3 separate regions of the Homo sapiens genome follow, and all the other regions are linked to region 2. The links are contacts of gene promoters, found by promoter capture Hi-C in blood cells and fetal thymus (Javierre and others, 2016). All regions are on one chromosome and are shown on one strand. The core of a region is centred on a gene start or on the middle of the fragment in contact, and the rest is flanking DNA. Distances in the headings are between cores, read along the strand shown. Region 1 has its middle 3.3 kb from the start of CAPZB. Region 2 holds the start of IFFO2 (intermediate filament family orphan 2). Region 3 holds the start of MICOS10-DT (MICOS10 divergent transcript).

Region 1 (4,445 bases), core at 217-2,716, 530 kb before region 2:
GAAAGCTAAAAAAAAAAAAAAAAGGGTGTGGCAGGTGGAAAAATATCACAGTATGAACTTCAAGGGGGTTAGGGTCTTTAAAAGAGGATGAGACGAGAAACATTGCTAAAGATATTTATGGCCTGGATGTTGTGGCTCACACCTGATATCCCAACACTTTGGGAGGCCAAGGCAGGAGAATCACTTGGGCCCAGGAGTTCAAGATCAGTCTGACCAACATGGTGAGATCCCGTCCCTATTTAAATTATAAAGTTATTATTTATTTATTTATTTATTTATTTATTTATTTATTTATTTGGATACGAGGGTCTCACTCTGTTGTGCAGGTTGGAATGCAGTGGTGCAATCATGGCTCACTGCAGCCTTAATCTCCTGGGCTGAAGGAATCTTCCTGCCTCAGCCTCCTGTGTAGCTGGGACCAGTGGCATGTGCCACCATGCCTAATTATTTGACTTTTTTATAGAGACGGGGTCTCACTTTGTCAGTGAGGTCTCGAACTCCTGGGTTTAAGCAATACTCCCACCTAGGCTTCCAAAGTGCTGGGATTACAGGCGTGAGCTACCATGCTTGGCCAAAAAATTTTAAAATAAACAAAATTTATAGTGCCTGCATACCAATTCACAACCCCTTGTAGATGACCATGTTTAATGCCATGTGTCTCCATGCTCATAGCAATAGCTGATGGATCTAGGGGCAGGATCTGAGCAGTGGGCAGCCAATCTGTGGAGTGACCTGTCCAGTGAATGAACTTTCCTTCAGGCTTGGCCTCCATCCCTTGGTATCCAAGAAGGACACCACCTTTTCTTGGTCCTGTTCCTGCCTCGCGGGTCATTCCTTCTCAGTCTTTCTGCTGGTTCCTCTTTATCTTCATGACCTCTTCTCTCTACATTCACCCACAAAGTGAGTTCACCAAGATGTCTGTGCTTTCAAGTATCTTTACATGCCATTTACTAGCTGACAGTTCTCATAAGTTTATCACAGCTCTAACTTCTTCCCCCAACTCCAAACTTCCATATCTAATTACTTATTTGATATCTCCATTTATTTATTTTTATTTTTATTTTTTGAGATGGAGTATCACTCTGTTACCCAGCCTGGAGTGCAGTGGTGCAATCTCTGCTCACTGCATCCTCCACCTCTGGGTTCAAGTGATTCTCCTGGCTCAGCCTCCTGAGTAGCTGGGATTACAGGCATGTGCCACCATGCCCACCTAATTTTGGTATTTTTAGTAGAGACAGGGTTTCACCATGTTGGCCAGGCTGGTTTTGAACTCCTGACCTCAGGTGATCCACTTGTCTCCCCAAAGTGCTAGAATTACAGGTGTGAGCCACCACGCCCACCTGACATCTCCATTTAAATCTCCAGTAGGAGGGGCCTGGCGCGGTGGCTCACGCCTGTAATCCCAGCACTTTGGGAGGCCGAGGTGGGCGGATCATGAGGTCAGGAGATCAAGACCATCTTGGCTAACATGGTGAAACCCCATCTCTACTAAAAATACAAAAAAAAATTAGCCAGGTGTAGTGGCGGGCACCTGTAGTCCCAGCTACTCGGGAGGCTGAGGCAGGAGAATGGCGTGAACCCGGGAGGCGGAGCTTGCAGTGAGCCGAGATTGTGCCACTGCACTCCAGCCTGGGCGACACAGCCAGACTCCGTCTCAAAAAAAATAAAATAAAATAAAAAATCTCCAGTAGGAGGCCAGGCATGGTGGCTCACATCTGTAATCCTAGAACTTTGGGAGGCCAAGGCGGGCAGATCATTTGAGGTCAGGAGTTCAAGACCAGCCTGGCCAACATGGTGAAATCCTGTCTCTGCTAAAAATTCAAAAATCAGCCAGGCGTGGTGGCGCACGCCTGCAGTCCCAGCTCCTTGGGAGGCTGAGGTGGGAGAATTGCTTGAATCCAGGAGACGGAGGCTGCAGTGAGCCGAGATCGCACCACTGCACTCCAGCCTGGGCGACAGAGTGAGACTCCATCTCAAAAACAAAAACAAAAAAATCTCCAATAGGCATCTCAAACATAACTTGCTCCCTCTTATCCACAACCCTCTCCTCAGAAAAACCCTGCTCCTCCTACAGTCTTCCCCAGATCAATAAATGGTAAATCCTTCCAGTGTTAAGCCAAAAACCTTAGCATCAGGCAAAACTATGGAGTAAAAAGATCAGTGGTTGCCAGGAGCTGGGGGAAAGGGGATGAAGAGGTGGAACACGGGGGATTTTTAGGGCAGTGAAAATATTCCGTATGATGGTTCTAACGGTGGCTAGATGTAATTATCCACTTCTCCAAGCCCATAGATTGTATAAGTGAACCCTAATGTAAACTATTGGGTGATCACGATGTATGAATGCAGGTTATTTGCAACAGATGTACCACACTAGTGGGGAATGGGGACAATTCAGGGAGGCTCTGCATATGTGGGGCAGGGGGGTATATATGGATTGTCTCTGTACCTTCCTCTCAATTTTCTTGTGAAACTAAAACTGCTCTAAAAAACAAAGTCTTGGCCGGGTGCAGTGGCTCATGCCTGTAATCCCAGCACTTTAGGAGGCTGAGGTGGGAGGATTGCTTAAGCCCAGGAGTTCGAGACCAGCCTGGGTAATACAGTGCGACTCAGTCTCTACAAAAAAATTAGCCTGGCACGGTGATGCACGCCTGTAGTCCCAGCTACTCAGGGCGGGGGTGGGGAGGGGCTGAGGTGGGAGGATCACTTGAGTCCGGGGGTGTTGAGGCTGCAGTGAGCTATGATTGCGCCACTGCACTCCAGTCTGGGCAACAGAACTGAGACACTGTCTCAAAACAAAAAACAACAGAAGACAAAGTCTTTAAATATGAAAAAAAAAATCTTAGCATCATCCTTGATTCCTTTCTTCTCATGCCTACCACCAATACATCAGGAAATACCTAGAATACTATCTACTTCTTGCCATCTCCAATGCTACTACCCTGGTCTAAGCCAGCTTCATCTCTCTGCTGTGTGACCTTGGGCAAGCTCCTTACCTTTTCAGGCTTCTGTCATGAGGATTAAATGGCTTATTATCTGTAAGGTGCTTAACAGTGTTCATCACATAGGATGTGCCATATCAGTGCTTTTTAAATAAATAAATGTCCTCAATATAGAAATGGCTTTCTAAGGCCCTAGTCCCCCTACAGTCCATTCAGAACACAGCAGCCTCATGATCCTTTTAAAGCCTAGGTCAAATCTTGTCATTGCCCTGTCCTTCAGCTCCTGCTCGACCTAGGCTAGCCACACTGGCCTCCTGTCTGGCCCTTGAAAACACACCAGTGCTGATGCAGCACTGTCACCTTCAGGGTTTTTACCCTTGCTGCTCCTTGTGCCTCTGCTATCCACACGGCTTGCTCCCTCCTTCCCTTCAGCTATATGATCAAATATTGCTAAGTTAGGCCTTGCCTGCCTACCTGTTTGCTTGAATTTTTCTCATTATCTCTAATCACTACCCGACACTGTATTATTATTATTACTATTTTATTTTTGAGACGAAGTCTCTCTCTGTCGCCCAGGCTGGAGTGCAGTGGCGCGATCTCGGCTCACTGCAAGCTCCGCCTCCCGGGTTCACGCCATTCTCCTGCCTCAGCCTCCCGAGTAGCTGGGACTACAGGCGCCCGTCATCCCGCCCAGCTAATTTTTTTATTTTTAGTAGAGACGGAGTTTCACCGTGTTAGCCAAGATGGTCTCGATCTCCTGACCCCGTGATCCGCCCACCTCGGCCTCCCAAAGTGCTAGGATTACAGGCGTGAGCCACTGCGCCCGGCCTCGGCTAACTTTGTGTATTTTTAGTAGACGGGGTTTCGCCATGTTAGCCAGGCTGATCTGGAACTCCTGACTTCAAGCGATTGCCCACCTCGGCCTCCCAAAGTGCTGAGATTACAGGCGTGAGCCACTGTGCCTGGCCTTGGACACTGTATTTGCCTGGTGGCCGACTGTCTCCCTGACAACACTCAAGCTCCACAACCATGTGGGTTATTTTGCTCATTGCTCTATTTCCAGAGCCTAGCACAGTGCTTGGCACATAGCAGATGCTCAATAAGTATCTACTGCGTGTGCCATTCTCTTCCTTGAATTTCTGTAATACTCATCCAATACCATTCTTGCGAGACTTACCCGTATGCTTTTTCTGCCAGTGGCTACCTGTGAAAGCTTCGACTTGTCTATGAGCTCCCTGAGGACAGGGCCTGGCTCAGGGAAACAATTCCTGTCATCTGTGCAGTTTACCATCCCCTCACAGATCGCCTAATTTGATTTAACCAAAGCAAACAGGCCACGGAGGCAGATATTGTTAGCAATCCAGATCTCTCCTGCTACCTAGACTAAGCTTAACAAATATTTGATTGAGAGAGAGAGAGAGAGATTGGGAGAGAGAAACTTGAGTCACTTTGTGGAGCGAGGAAGCCCTTCTGGGCTAATGGAATGGTTCTCTGTAGCACATTCAA
Region 2 (4,040 bases), core at 35-2,534:
TCTGAAACATGCCACATATCTGGTTAAGTGCATACAATGCAAGCCACAGGCGTTCAAAGGTGGGGGTTCAAGGTGGGGGTCACCTCCCCTCTGAGGTTTGCGGTGAGGACCAAATGCGGAAATGGACACGAGGCCCGAGGCCAGCATTGTGGAAGGCCGGTTAGAGCATGCACTTTGGACCATTGTGGCTACTTAACGTCTCAGTGACCTTCTCTGTAAAATGGGGATAATAAATAAGTATGGCGCCTGACATATACTAATGTTTGCAACACGGTTCAGGAGACACCAGAGACTGGAGAACTTGGCCTTTAACGTGGTAGGTGTGAAAACATTTGAATGAATGAATGAATGAATGAATGGGTCCTCGGGTTGCCTCGGTCTGCCCCAGGCGGCCCGCTAAGCCCCATGTCTGTGAAATGAATCCCCAGCTCTCGGGGTCAGCTTCATCTCAGCGTGTGGGTGTGGGTGGTGGGGAGGTGCTGAGCAGCTCAGCAGAGGCGAGGCCCAGGCCGAGTTTGTGGGTGTCATCCCGGGAGGGTCTTGCTCGGCCTCCCCAACCCCCATGCTGCTCGGCTCCTCAGTGGGCGGGGGAACCAGCGGGCTTAGCTGTGCCCGGGCCGATCTCGAGAGGACAAGGCCCGCAGCTAGCATTCGAGGAGCCCACCCCCGGGTCCGCAGCGTGGGGCACGGGCGCCCTCTTATCCCCGAAAGGTCGATCTGGGCCTCCCCAGGCTAGAGTGGGGGTGGGGTGCCGATGCACCTTCGGATACTGTGGTCCCCCAGCCCTTCCAGCCGCGGTCGCGCACATCCGAAGGAATTTGGGGCCAGGGGCATTGCGGGCAGAGAGGACAGAGAAACGGAGCCCTCTCGGCAGGCGACGTGGGAGAGGAGCGCCCTAAAAAGTGGAAAGCGAGCGTTGCCGAGGCTGCTGGCCCCTTTAAGAGGCCCGGCTGGCTCTGCGGCGGTTCCAGCTAACCCGGTCCCTGGTGCAGCTCTGCGGTCCGGGTCCCCCAGCAGAGAATCGGCACCCGGCGGGGAGGCAGGACCAGACGCAGGAGAGGGCGTGGCCCCGCCGGGGAGCTGGGCGGAGTCTATGCTGCGGAGAAAGCGGGAGAACCCGGAGGTGGGCGGAGCCGAGGGTCTGTGGGTGGGGCCCGGCGCTGCGGGCCTCGTGGGGCGGAGCCTCGGGCTCGGGGAACGCCGCAGAGGGAGGAGGGGTGGGCGGGGCCGCGGCGGGGGCGGGGCCAGTGTCTGCAGTGGGCGGGGCCCGCCGCAGAAGGGGCAGTGCCGGCCGAGAGTCCTCTGCGTGCGGCTGCCGCGGCCCCTCCACAGCGTCTCTGACAGCCCGGGCGGTGAGACCCGCGACCCTTCTGGCCCCGCGCAGATACCGCGGCCTCCACCGCGTCCCGAGGAGCGGCCGAGTGCCCTCTCTCGCCTCGGCGCCCGCATCCGGGGCCATCCGTCCTGCCGTCTCTGCGGAGGCCGCATCTGGCGCGCATCTGGAACCGCCCGGCCGGCCGCGCTGGAGCCCGCGCCCACCCTGGCCCGGCCGCGCCGGGAGCCCTGCCCGGAGCTGGAGCCGCACCTGGAGCCGCGGGCCCGGGGCCCTGAGCCGCGCAGCCGGCGCATGGTGAACTCGCTGCTGTTCGGGGAGATGGCCTTGGCCTTCGGCTGCCCGCCGGGCGGCGGCGGCGGGGGCTGCCCTGGCGGGGGCGGCGGCGGCGGCGGGGCAGGGCCGGGTCCGTCGCCGGTGACGGCGGCGCTGCGGGACGACCTGGGCTCCAACATCCACCTCTTGAAGGGGCTCAACGTGCGCTTCCGCTGCTTCCTGGCTAAGGTGCACGAGCTGGAGCGGCGCAACCGGCTGCTGGAGAAGCAGCTGGAGCAGCAGCAGAGCGAGCGCGAGCGGCGGCTGCGCTACAAGACCTTCTCCCGCGAGCAGGCCGTGCAGACCGGGCCCGAGTTGCTGCGGCCCCCGGCGCCCGGCGGCGGGCACGGCCTCAGCAGTGGCGCGGCGGCCGGCGCCAACGCCAATGCCGTGGCCCTGGGCGGCCTGCCCCCCGGCGGCGGCTCGCACCCGCAGCACTACGGCCGCCTGCCCGGGACCATCTGGAGCTACACGCAGGTGCGGCGCACGGGCGGCGGCGGCGTGGAGACCGTGCAGGGCCCCGGCGTGTCGTGGGTGCACCCCGACGGCGTGGGCGTGCAGATCGACACCATCACGCCGGAGATCCGCGCGCTCTACAACGTGCTGGCCAAGGTGAAGCGCGAGCGCGACGAGTATAAGCGGAGGTGAGTGGCCGCCCCTCCCCCGCCGCCCTGGGACGGGGCGCCCAGGTCCAGGCTGCCGCGGAATGCGTATGCGGGACGGGGGCCGGGCGGGCAGCTGGTACTGGCAGGTGGGCTGGAAGCTGTGTTTGCAGAGCGTCTTACGTACGCCAGGAAGGCCCAGTTATCTAGATCCCAGGATGGGGGCGGGCGCTGGCTACCGTGGGGGCCACCTCGATGCTGTCACTGGTGAGGCACATTGTTTTCTAGGTGACATAATAACTGTCTGTGTTTTATGCGATCTCATTTAATTCTCAGCACAATACAGCGTATTGTGTAAGGCAGTCTTATCCTCATCTCGCAGATGAGGAAACCGAGGTGCAGAAATGCTAAGTGATTTGCCTAAGGTGGCTTGGCGAGTAAGTGGTGAAACCGGGATTTCAACCAGAGATTTTAACCACTCCTGGCTAGTCTGTCTCCTAGCATAAGTATTTTTACCAAGGAAGTAGGAAATATGCTCCCCTCCCTCAACATATGAAAAGAAAAACTCTAACCAACCCACTGCCTTTTTATTTCTTGAATTAAATGAGATCACGTTTTTGAAAATGGATGGATCTGCCCCTACCCCCTGGGGCCAGTGTCTGCCGTCTTGCTCCAGCTCTGTAAGGTCCAGCTTGCTGGGTTGGATAACCACAACTACAACAGACTGCTCACAAGCTTTTATAAAATGCCTCCTTTCATCCCTCTTCTCCCCACTCCCTGAGTCTCATGGTTTATTGAGCCCTAACAAACTCAGCCTTAAAAGCCCCCAGGAGAAGATAATGTTGGGCTGGAGACTGGACATTGAATGGACTGAGACCACAATCTCTGGCTAGAACTGGGGTCCAGACTCTGCAAGACTGGCCAGTGCATTCCTGCCTAGCCCAGATTCCCCAGCTGGGAAACTGTCATTGCTTCCTGTCTGCAGTCTGGCCGACAATACTGTCTGCTTGGCTTTCCGATAAGAGGAGAGGGGTCTCCTATCCTCCTCCTCTTCCCATAAGAGAAGAAGGGTCTGTCTTTGGCATCTCAGGCCTGGCTGGGGAAGGGGCCCTCTGGCCCTGGCAATCGCTGTTCCAGGCACAGGCAGCCTTCCATTCGGAGCTATTGGCTCTGAACTCCAGGGCTTGGAGGATGTACTGAGAAGGACCCTTCCTTCCATCTCTAAAGGTCTGTCCAGGGAGCTGGGCATAGGTCTCCTTCCGTATTCTCCCATTGGACAGGCTAGCAACTGGGTAGGATTCAAATGCCAGCCTTATACCTGCTGGTGAGATTATCAAATCACTTGAAAGCCTGTTTGCTCATCAGAGAAATGGGAATAATAAAATCTGCCCACAGTTGCTCGAGGAGACAGCAGGATGGTGATGCTCTTTGGGAGGTATAAAGTAATCATGCTGGTGTTATTAAAGATGATAGGCACTTTGTCAAGCTAGCAGGGAGTAGAAATGCTGAGAGTCCTCAAGCTCTCTCATGTGGCGCCTAGCTTCCTGGGGGTAGGTCTTACACTCCACTGGGAGACGGGCTTCTCTCCTGGGTTACCTGTTTCTCTGGAGGACTTGAGAATGGCCCGCCTGGTGCCTTGCCACAGGGAGGCCACCTCGCCGCCCCTCATGGTCAATGTCATTGGGGCAGGCTAGGGAAGCAGGCACTTGCTCTCAATGGTGAAACTGGGGAGGGATGGGCCGGGCCCTCCTGTCTGCCACTGTTGATTGTGTTGTCATGCCTCAGGCTTG
Region 3 (4,327 bases), core at 466-2,965, 640 kb before region 2:
CCTCGGCCTCCCAAAGTGCTGGGATTACAGGCCTGAGCCACTTCGCCCAGCTCAAAGCCCTTTCTTAACTATATGACATTGCCTAGTAACTACTTTGGTCATTTCATAGCTAGGTGTTAAGTCTTCTCTCTGAACTGCAAGCTGTTAACAGTAACAAAACAAAAGTGACTGTTTAGTCGCTTCCAAAATAACCCATTCCTAAGTGATCCATATTCAAGCCTTTAAACAAACTAACTCATTTAATCCTCCCAACGACTCCATGAGATAGTAATAATTATTACTGCCGATTTCCAAATAGGAATCAGGCACAGAAAAGTTAAATAACTTGCCCCAAATCACTTGACTGTAAGTGCTGAATTCAGAGGTGAAATGGTAACTTATAAACTGTTTCATTTATTGACTCACTCTCAACAATTTTTATTAAGCACTCTTTTAGGGGCTGGGGATGGGGCAGTGACTAAACCAGAAAACATCCCTGCTCTCATGGAGCTTACAATCTTATTCCTCAATGTTTTCATTCAAAGACACAATCCTAAATCCTCTTAAATACCCTAAGATTACCACACAAAAATATCACATTTGGGTAACAAAAATTAGCATCGAAGAAGGAACATGGGACTTGACCCCAGAAAAGCTGGGTAAAATCCCTAATTTTGCCATTTGTTAGCTGTGACCGTGGGCAAATTCCTTCACCTGACTCTCCATTTCACGGCCTGTAAAAAGATTATTTCGCACAATGAAGACAATATACGCTCAATAAACGAGTTTCCTTTCTCCTCCCCACCATACAGTGACTTCATAATTTGTGCCGTCACTGAGCACGTGTTAAAGGACTACGCAGAAAAACTTAACGTGAACAACTTCTTACTTTCCAGCGCAATTCTCATTCCAGATCATCACCCCTCTAAGTTCAGGCCCCAGACTACTCTGATTCAAATAAATCAGGTGGCAAGTCGGGAATGACAGCAACTCGCATCAGGGCCTGGCGGTGTCTATGAAATGCTCCAGGTGACCTTCTCCAGAAGGCACTTTGGTTTCCGCCGGGGAGCAGCGTGGCCTCCTGAGCCGGTTCCCCGCCGCGTGCCGGGGAATGCACCACCCGGGAGGAGAACCCCGCGGCTCCGGCACGAGGGTGTGCCCCGACACTGTCTTCCACTCAAGAGCTCTGCGACTCTCCTGCCACCTGCCAACCCCGACCACCTCCTCCGGGCTGCAACTCCACCCCGCACCCGGGCTGCTGCTCCGGCTCCTCGGGTCTGTGCCCGCCGCCCGAGTGACCTCCCGCCGGGGCCCGGGCGGCTCGCCCTGGCCGGAGGGGCCGGAAAAGGCCGAGAGGCCTGACCTCCCGTGGGGCTTCCCTTCCTTCCTCCTGGGCAGCGCAGCCTGGAGCCAGCAGCTCTGCACCGGCCGGGCCTGCTGGGGCGAAAAGCCCCTTACCTATCTTCACGACCGCATCCGCCAGACACCGGTCCCACTTCCTGCCGAGCTCCGACTCAGACATGTTCCCCACCCGCGCCTCCAGCTTTCCTCTCGGCCGGCCCCCGCGCTCCGACCCCTGAAAGTCTCGCGAGAGCTGGAAACAAGTCCCAGGTCAGGAAGGCAGGCGCAGACGCTCCAGATATCGCGAGATGATCCGCTGCTTCCATCCCTTCCGGTTTTTTCAGTTGGTCGTCAAGGTGACGAGTTGTCTGGAGGCTCGAGGTGACCCTGACCTTGGGGCTGCGCCTATGGGTTTGCGAGGCTGACAGTTTCCTAGGCGTCACCCCAAGCCGTGACCAGGCCTTTCCTCCTCACCAAAGTGCGACATTGGCCCTGGAAATCCCCCGGGCAAGAGAGGGTACAGACTTGATTTATTCATTCATTAACGTACTCACCTTCACTTTCCCTACTCACTCTCTCATTCGTTCACTGGTTTCTTGCATTGGAATTCCCGCCTGAACCACTAACACCGAAACTGCTCTGGGAAAGATTACCTACCGCCAAATCAAATGGACTCTTTTCTGACCTCTGTACCGCATTCCACACAATTTTCCCTCCCTCTGATCCTCCCTGGCTCCTCTATTCGTTTCACTCCCGGTAACGCCACTCTTTCCTCTTCTCCCCATCTGCTGTTGTCTGTTGGTTTCCTCCAGGGCTGCCTTTTCTCTGCCAGCTGTTTAAGGACTGTTGGTTCGCAAGCTTCCATCAATTCTCTTTTCACTGTACAGACTCTCCCTGAGTAATTGCAAACACTGCCAAATTATATCTCCAGGTAAAACGTCTACCTCAGGCCTCCTATCCATGTATATATTTACACACCCACCCACACACACACACACATACACATACATACACAGGGTGCCCTCTGTATCTGTGGGTTTTGCATCCATGGATTTAACCAACCATGGACCAGAAACATTTTTGAATCAAATAAAAAATAATGCAAAATTTAAAATACAGTACAACTATTTACCTAGGATTTACATTGTATTAGGTATTATAAGTAACCTAGAGATGATTTAAAGTATATGGGAGCCAGCGCAGTGGCATGCGACCGTAGTCCCAGCTACTTGGGAGGCTGAGATGGGAGGATTGCTTGAGACTAGGAGTTCGACTTCATCTCTTTAAAAAAAAATAAGTAATTTTAAAAAAGGATATGTAAGCATGTGTGTAGGTTGTATGCAAATACCACGCCATTTTATATATGGGACTTGAGCATCCTGCATTTTGGTAACTGCGAGATCCTGAAACCAAATGCCCACAGCTATCAAGAGAGATTGTATATCCAGCCTACTGGCTAGTGTCATTGATTTTAGTCTTCCATCCTACCAACAAATAGAAATCTGACCACGTTATGCCTCTGATTAGAAGCTGTCAATGAAGGCCGAGAGCAGTGGCTCACACCTGTAATCCCAACACTCTGGGAGGCTGAGGCGGGAGGATTGTTTGAGGCCAGTAGTTCAAGACCAGCCTAGGCAGCATAGTGAGACTCCTGTCTCTACAAAAAATTTAAAAAATTAGCCAGGCTAATGTGATGTGTGCCTTTAGTCCCAGCTACTTAGGAGGCTGAGGTAGGAGGATCACTTGAGCCTGGGAAGTGGAGGCTACACTGAGCCATGTTCATGCCACTGCACTCCAGCCTGGGCATCAGAGTGATACCCTATCACAAAAGAAAAAAAAAAAAAGCTGTCAATGACTCCCATTCATACACTGGATCTATCCAAGCTTCAACACTGCACTGATTCTAGGAAGCCTAGTCAGATAGAGCTTAGAGCTGCCTTCCCCTTCTCATTGTCCCACTACCCTGCCTACCCGCATTGATTTCTCTATCTAGTACTGAAACATCTGGTTGTAGATATTATCTGCTAGTAGAACTAGAAGTTGCCCCTTCGTCTTCATACTTCCAGTCAGAGCACAATGCCTTGGATAGTAGGGTCTTCTATGAAATATTTGTTGAACTGAATTGAATTTATTCACCTATTTATTTGTTTATTTATTTATTGAGAGAGAGTCGCGCTCTGTTGCCCAGGCTGGAGTGCAGTGGCACGATCTCGGCTCACTGCAACCTCTGCCTACTGGGTTTGAGCAATTCTTCTGCCTCAGCCTCCAAAATAGCTGGGATTACAGGCGCCCACCACCACGCCTGGCTAACTTTTTGTATTTTTTTAGTAGAGATGGGGTTTCGCCATATTGGCCAGGCTGGTCTTGACTCCTGGCCTCAAGTGATCCACCCACCTTGGCCTCCCAAAGTGCTGGGATTACAGGCATCGTTCAACTATTTATTTGCAACTATGACAGCAAAACTCTGTTGTATCAGATCTTGCTACGACAGCCTCTTCCTTCAAGATAACTTCTATGACCACCCTTCCCTTCTCCTAGTTCTCTATTTTTTTAAATTATTCTTTCTTTTTTTTTTTTTTTTTGAGACAGAGTCTTGCTCTGTCACCCAGGCTGGAGTGCAGTGGCATGATCTTGGCTCACTGCAACCTCTGCCTCCCAGGTTCAAGAGATTCTCCTGTCTCAGCCACCTGAGTAGTTGGGATTACAAGCACGTGCCACCACCCCCAGCTAATTTTTGTATTTTTAGTAGAGATGGGGTTTCACCATGTTGGCCAAGCTGGTCTTGAACTCCTGACCTCAGGTGAACCACCCACCTCAGCCTCCCAAAGTGCTGGGATTACAGGCTTGAGCCATCATGCCCAGCCCTATTTTTCCTATTCTTTAAATTTTTCTTTGCTTTTCCTTTTTTATAGAGGTGAGGTTTTGCTATGCTGCCCAGGCTGGTCTCGAACTCCTGGGCTCAAGCCATCCTCCCACTTTGTCCTCCCAAAGTACTAGGATTATAGGC

Evidence for each region. The method cuts DNA at HindIII sites, captures the fragments that hold promoters and counts their contacts. A CHiCAGO score of 5 or more calls a contact.
Region 1: a fragment that was not itself captured here is called in contact with the fragment with the promoter of IFFO2 in region 2 in 1 of 17 cell types (fetal thymus); the score reaches 6.0 in fetal thymus.
Region 3: a contact is called between the fragment with the promoter of MICOS10-DT here and the fragment with the promoter of IFFO2 in region 2, in 3 of 17 cell types (total CD8 T cells, total CD4 T cells and fetal thymus). The highest score is 7.0, in total CD8 T cells.

The regions. Positions count from the first base shown.
Region 1 is chr1:19,486,616-19,491,060 of GRCh38, reverse strand. It overlaps a transcript of LOC105376819 not described here. Among named protein-coding and RNA genes, the nearest start is that of CAPZB, 3.3 kb to the right of the region's middle. RefSeq lists an enhancer at 3,179-3,686. The HindIII fragment of the contact is 5,377 bases long and covers 1-4,154 here.
Region 2 is chr1:18,953,920-18,957,959 of GRCh38, reverse strand. IFFO2 (intermediate filament family orphan 2) reads left to right here and starts at 1,284. Exons shown (of 9, transcript NM_001136265.2): 1 at 1,284-2,292. The coding sequence starts at 1,628. RefSeq lists silencers at 1,102-1,271, 1,842-2,101, 2,342-2,531. The HindIII fragment of the contact is 3,069 bases long and covers 1-2,987 here.
Region 3 is chr1:19,594,220-19,598,546 of GRCh38, reverse strand. It overlaps MICOS10-DT (MICOS10 divergent transcript), which reads left to right and starts at 1,715. Exons shown (of 2, transcript NR_135054.1): 1 at 1,715-1,837. MICOS10-NBL1 (MICOS10-NBL1 readthrough) reads right to left here and starts at 1,568. Exons shown (of 4, transcript NM_001204089.2): 1 at 1,438-1,568. It overlaps MICOS10 (mitochondrial contact site and cristae organizing system subunit 10), which reads right to left and starts at 1,568. Exons shown (of 4, transcript NM_001032363.4): 1 at 1,438-1,568. The coding sequence starts at 1,501. RefSeq lists a silencer at 1,146-1,355 and an enhancer at 1,476-1,775. The HindIII fragment of the contact is 2,967 bases long and covers 1-2,180 here.